Linked DNA regions of Homo sapiens: region 1 is linked to region 2. Evidence: promoter capture Hi-C in 16 types of primary human blood cells and fetal thymus (Javierre and others, 2016). All regions are on one chromosome and are shown on one strand. Each heading gives the region's core, a stretch centred on a gene start or on the middle of the fragment in contact. The rest is flanking DNA. Distances are from core to core; before and after follow the strand shown. Region 1 overlaps FERMT3 (FERM domain containing kindlin 3). Region 2 holds the start of NRXN2 (neurexin 2).

Region 1 (2,978 bases), core at 429-2,928, 510 kb before region 2:
GGGTGGCCCCAGGGCACGGCATGAGGGTAACGCAGGAGGCCTTAACCTGGAGTCAGACAGACCCCGCTGCTCTACCCGCTGCTGGGCACCCCAGGGCAAGTTCCTTTAGCTCTGTGTTCCCTGTGGTGGGGATACTGTCACTCCTAAGCACATCAGCTCTGTCTACTGATGCTCAGCCTGGCCGCCCCGGGCCAGTCCCTGGCCTCCTGGAGCAGCAGCGGGTGAGACTGACCCATGGGGGCTGCGTGCCGGCTGCCGCACAGAGGGCGCTATCATGGGGGCCTGGAGCCAGAGGAGGGGGCTGCCCCGAGCCCAGGATGGGGATAACCCCAGGAGAAGTCCTGAGAGGTGGCCTCAGCAGGGAGGAGCAAGGTGGTGGCGCTGGGACTCGGAGGGCTGTGAATTAGGGCTCTCGGCTGGTGAGGATGCTGGGAGCGTGACCAGAAATGAGGCTGGCTGGTGCCTGGCCAGCTCTGCATGGCCCCGAAGGCCTCCAGAAGGGGTCTAGACTTTCTTCTGGAGGGGAAGGTGGCCACCGAAGGGTTCTCAGCAGGAGGCTGTCCTGCTAAGGTCAGCAGCAAGGCGAAAGGCTGGTGGCGGCAGGCCCCTGAGGAGGCTGTGGTCCTGGTTAGAGACACCAGGGCCTCCTAAGGCCGGGCAGGGAGGATGGAGAGGAGGGTGGATTTTAGAGGTGGGATTGGCATTGATTACATGTGGTGGCTAGAAGAGAAAGGGAGGATGCCTGGGCCTTTGGCGCGAGTCCGTGTCCCCCAGCCCTGAGAGGTGGTGTAGGGAGCTGGTGAGGAGGGGGAGCTGGCTAGGAGAGGGCACCTCTGTGCACAGCGAGTCTGAGCTGAGCTCCAAAAGCCGAGACCAGGAGTCATGGTGCTTACAGTCCCAGTGTCAGCCACTCGGCCACAGGAACAGAGGGTTCTGGAAAGGAGGAAGCCGGTGGACAGGCCCCTCAGCTGGCAGCACATGGGTTTCTGGCTGGGGGCCCAGGGCAGGGTCTGGGCCGAGGGCCACGCATGGGGAGGCAGCAGAAAATGGCAACTGAAACCACAGAATAGGGAGACCCAGTAAGGGGACCTGGCCGAGGCAGGAGAAGAGGGTCCCAGGCCGAACCTGGGGAAAGGACAAGGTAAGGGGCCGGTCAGGAGAGGGACCGGAGAGGGGCCAGAGAGGACAGGAGAAGAGCAAGGAGCCAAGACAAGGGGATGCGGCGGCACACAGCCAGAGTCCCACTGGGGTGCCCAGGAGGGAAGGGCCCAGCCTGGGAGGGGAAGTGCCGGAGGACGAGCGCTTCTCTTGGTTTGGCAGCAGTGGTGATGCCCGGCATGTGCAGCAGTGGGGTTGGGGGCTGGCTGAGGTGGGTGGGATGCAGTGGGAATCAGAAAACTCACCGGGAGGACCTGGGAGGAACTCAGGAAACAGGGCTTTGCAAACTCTCAAGGGCTGTGTGCCCAGAGCAGCTTTCCGGCAGCCTTTTTCCTATGCTCTCTCCCACCTGTTCATGCTCCTGGAGGGAGGAGGCGGGGAGACCTGTGCCTTCCATTACTGTAACTCCAGTTCCCAGCTGGCTGACAAGGGACAGACGCACATCTCTAATTCAATGCTCACTCATGGATCGTCATGTGCGTGCACAAGTTTGCTGCAAACCCTGCAGCTACCACATGGGAGGCCTTGTTCCGTGTCCCAGTTTGTAAGATCGTTATTGTATCTTACAGGGAAACTGAGGCCCAGTGAGGTTAAGTGGCTTGTCCAAGGTCACACAGCTAATAGCTAAAAATATTGAGTGCTCACTGCTCCAGGCCAGGCACAGGTCCAGGCCCTGAGGACATACAACGGTGAGACAGACGTAGTCTCTGCCTCCAGGAGCTCCCCAGAATGCAAGACAGAGGCTGTTAAACCGTGGATTATGGGAGGACAGAGGGGGCGTCATGTGGAGGGAGCCCAGTGGGCTGGAATGCAAGAGATGGGGCGCTAAGATTGGGGCACTCAGATGCTGGGTTGGAGAGCTCCCCTGGGAAGCGATATAGAAGCCAAGCCTAGAAGGCCAAATCAGGGGCTGCCTGCAGAGAGCCCTGCTGCTGTTACCATGGGGTAGACCCCAGGCCCGCCCAGGCTGCCCCACTCTTGGCTTAGGCAGGGCAGGGGAGTGGTCGCCCCAGGCTTCTGAATCCTGGGGTTGTGCTGGGTGTTGGGGGCACCAGGGAGGAAGGTTGGACCCAGATGTGCCCCCGTGCCCCACAGATCGCAAGCAGGACTGGTCAGACCATGCTATTTGGTGGGAACAGAAGAGGCAGTGGCTGCTGCAGACCCACTGGACACTGGACAAGTACGGGATCCTGGCCGACGCACGCCTCTTCTTTGGGCCCCAGCACCGGCCCGTCATCCTTCGGTTGCCCAACCGCCGCGCACTGCGCCTCCGTGCCAGCTTCTCCCAGCCCCTCTTCCAGGCTGTGGCTGCCATCTGCCGCCTCCTCAGTAAGTTGCCCGGCTGATTCCCCTGGCCCACGAGGGTGATGCAAAGAGGCAGGTTCCCCCGTTTCCAGGCCCAGCTCTGTTGACGCTGTCCTTGCTGTCTGGGTTGCCACCCTGCCTGCAGGGCTGTGACCCGCCCCAAGCACCCATGGGTGAGGTGGGGAGGCTGCAGCAGGACCTAGTCCCCGCTGAGACCCTAGCTCCCCTCAGGCATCCGGCACCCCGAGGAGCTGTCCCTGCTCCGGGCTCCTGAGAAGAAGGAGAAGAAGAAGAAAGAGAAGGAGCCAGAGGAAGAGCTCTATGACTTGAGCAAGGTTGTCTTGGCTGGGGGTGAGTGCAAGTGGGGGTGGGCCTGGGGGGTTGGGGGCAGGGGCCGGCCCGTGAGTCCCAGCCCTGGGGGACAGGCCTGGTTGACTCCCAACCTGCACTCCAGGCGTGGCACCTGCACTGTTCCGGGGGATGCCAGCTCACTTCTCGGACAGCGCCCAGACTGA
Region 2 (3,079 bases), core at 397-2,896:
AGAGGAGGTAGGGACTGAGGGGCTGAAGCACCCACAAAACAGAAGGCCTCACAGTTAGCAGACTGCAGACCTCCCTCCCCTTCTCCTTCCCTCTCCCTTCTTTCTTTCTCCTTCTCTGGCAGAAGACAGAGAAAGTAAGACCCTAATGTCCACCCTCCTCCAAAAGGAACACCCAGACACTGGGAAGGTAGACAACAGGGAAGGATAAGAATGAATGGAAGAGGAGAGACGCCCACCCGCCAACACATGAAAAAACAGGGCTATCTGGAAGCCCCCAGGGCAGCCAAGGGACTGGGGACCCAAGACCCACCCCCTAAAAATCTATTTCATTATTCCAGGTGGACAGCCTCCTCCTTCACCTCCAGACACCAAGAAAAAGCCCCTCCCAGCCCTTGCTAGCTCAATGAGGCATCGAATGCCCTCTCCCAAGATTCAGGAGGGGGGTGAGAGTAAAGGAGACAACAGCACCCCAAAGCCAATTGTGCCCCAAAAGCCCATCAAGGGTTCAAGGGCTCATACCCCAACCCAAAGACCCCAGGGAAGATTGCTGCTTCAGCTGGGGGAGGAGGCTGGGACATGAGAAATGGTCCCTTCCTCTTTAGGGGTGGGGGAGCAAGCCAAGGGCCCTGCAGCTTCCTCTCCCCCTGCAGCACTCTCTGACCAGAACCCTGTCACCGCCCCCAGCGCATTCCCACCCCAGCAAAGCCCCCTCCTACTGATTTCCCAGTCTCCCTGTCTCATCACCCCCAGCCTTCCCCCGCAAGCTTCCGCTCCTCTCCCTCAGACCCCATCTTTCCCAGCTCTCCACCAGCACAGACCCATCTCTGCCTGGAGCACCTTGGCACATTCCCCTCTGCTCTCTCCCAATAACCTCTTCTCCCCTTGGCTCCCATCCCCCAGGAAAGCCTGGTCCTCAGTGGGTCCCCTCAGGACGAAGCCCTTGGCCTGGCCCCTTTCCTTCCCTCTCCACTTCTCTCTCTTCTCCAGCCCCCTCTCCTCTCCTCCCACGAAGCCCAGTTTCTCGCTGGTTAGACCCTCCAGAACACAACAGCTCCTCTGGCCCGGCGCTGCTTCAAGCCTCTGGGGCTAGCACAGACTGGGGACCCCCCTTTAAGAACCCCCTCTAAGTCCTCTGGATGCCCCTCCTCTCTCCATCCCTTCCCCCAAAGACCCTTCCTCCCACCCCTCCCCATTCTCCTCAGCTCTCAGGGCCAGTGCCCCTTCCACAGGAGCCTCCGACCCCCAAGCCCCCAGCGGCTTTGCCTCCTCGCTGTCACCGGGCCAGCCCTCTCAGCGCGGCGCCCCCGCCCCCCAATTCATCCGTCCTGCCTCCCTCGCCCCCTCCGATCCGCTCCCCTCCCCCGATCGGCTCCCGCCCCCCGCCCGTCTCCGCCGCAGCGCCCCCCCCCCCCCATTTTACCTGGTTCTCGGGGCGCCAGAAGCTGGAGGGTGGGTAGCAGAGCTACAGGGCCGCCCCGTCTCCGACGGGTGGCAGAGCCAGGGCTAGCGGTGTCTGCCGCCTCGCGCCTCTCTCCCTCCCCGCCGCGTCCCCGCCCGCCCGCCCGCCCCGCCGCGGTGCCTCTCCGAGGAGGATGCTCCGCGAGTCAGGGCGGCTGCTCCCGCCGCCGCATCCCTGCAACACCGACTGACGGCAGCATCAGCACCAGTGCCCGCCCCCGAGACGCGCGCATTGGACCACGCTGCGCTGACGGGCGAGCAGCGCAGCCAATGCAAGGGCTCAGAAGCCGCCAGTCCAGCGGCTCCACAGGCCCACTCCCTCCCTCGCGCGGGACCCAGGCGTCCCGGCCCCAGCACCCGCGCTCCTCCCAGCCTCTCGAGGTTCTCGGGCGCCCGGGCCCCCAACCAGGCGGGCCCCAAACCCGGCCTCAGTGTCTTTTCCGGGAACCCAAGCACTCTCGCCCCTCGCCCCTCGCCCCTTAGTTCGGGGCCTTGGGTCCCGCACCCTCCCCCCACGGCCAGCAGGTCTTCGCGCAGCGCGGGGCTGGGACAAGCCGAAGGAGAGGCTGTGGACCCCGACTTGGGACGCCGCGAGAGCAGGGCTGATGCGGGGCCTGGGCCGCAGCGCCCTCTGCTGGCTACCCCCAGGGGCGGGCCCGGGCTTCGAGGAGCCTAGAGAAGGGGGACTCGGTGGGTCCATGGCTGCTGGGGGCTTTTTCCAGTCGGTAGCCTGGCCCCCACCTCCCACCGTCCGGAGGGCCCCTGGCTTGGAGCCCCCAGAACTGAAGAGGAAGGGGCTTTGCTGGGATAAAGACGGAGGCGGTGGGGGAAGGAAAGGCAGAGATGGGGGCGGGGTAGACCTAGGAACTTGGGGGTTTCCCAGTCCTGCCTCATGGGAATCCCAGAGTTTGAGGCCAAACTCTCAGTTCTGCCTGGAACCCTGGACCGAGGTACGAGTAGGTGTGGGGGCAGGGTTGCGCCTGCACATGCCTGGTGACTGAGGGCACCTGGCAGCAGCCCCCTTCTCTGTTCTCCTCCTCCCATCCATGAGTTTCAGTTAGAGTGGTGCTGGGGGGCGCAGGTCTCTCCTGTAAGGGTACATGCATCACTGTGCATGTGTATGAGTGTGGGGGACTGGGGGACACCCTTCACTCACTCCGCCAATAAAAGTGTACACACACTGGCACTTAGTGTGTATACCCCGAGGTTGGTCACTGGGCTGCTGAATGAGACAGTGAGAGACAGAGTGTGTGTGTGTATGTGTGCCAGACCATTCTGCCAGCTCACTCCAGGACCCTGGTTTCTGTTGCAGGGTCTGTGATCTGCACAGCTGGTGGTAGTTGGCACTTCCTTAGCCAGAGGCAACATGCAAGAACACTTACATTCAACCACCAATGCATGGACATTGGGGCACTCACAGCCATGCACACATATCTGTGAACACTGGGCATTCCCAGAGACACATAAGAACACCTGCAGAAATGCCCCACCATGGTAACACACCCACAGGAAGCATATACTGCCCAAGAACACACACACTTGTGCACACAGGTACCTACACCAGGCAATTAATGCATGCCCAGAACAGCTGCACCCAGGGGACCTGCCCACAGTCATCCTG

The links. The method cuts DNA at HindIII sites, captures the fragments that hold promoters and counts their contacts. A CHiCAGO score of 5 or more calls a contact.
Region 1: a contact is called between a fragment that was not itself captured here and the fragment with the promoter of NRXN2 in region 2, in 1 of 17 cell types (naive B cells). The highest score is 5.1, in naive B cells.

What each region holds. Positions count from the first base shown.
Region 1 is chr11:64,208,358-64,211,335 of GRCh38, forward strand. FERMT3 (FERM domain containing kindlin 3) reads left to right here. Exons shown (of 15, transcript NM_031471.6): 3 at 2,254-2,487; 4 at 2,695-2,814; 5 at 2,918-2,978. Among named protein-coding and RNA genes, the nearest start is that of FERMT3, 3.1 kb to the left of the region's middle. RefSeq lists enhancers at 1-72, 133-212. The HindIII fragment of the contact is 4,283 bases long and covers 1-2,978 here.
Region 2 is chr11:64,721,551-64,724,629 of GRCh38, forward strand. It overlaps NRXN2 (neurexin 2), which reads right to left and starts at 1,647. Exons shown (of 23, transcript NM_015080.4): 1 at 1,421-1,647. RefSeq lists silencers at 1,527-1,821, 1,808-2,107 and an enhancer at 2,488-2,537. The HindIII fragment of the contact is 9,459 bases long and covers 763-3,079 here.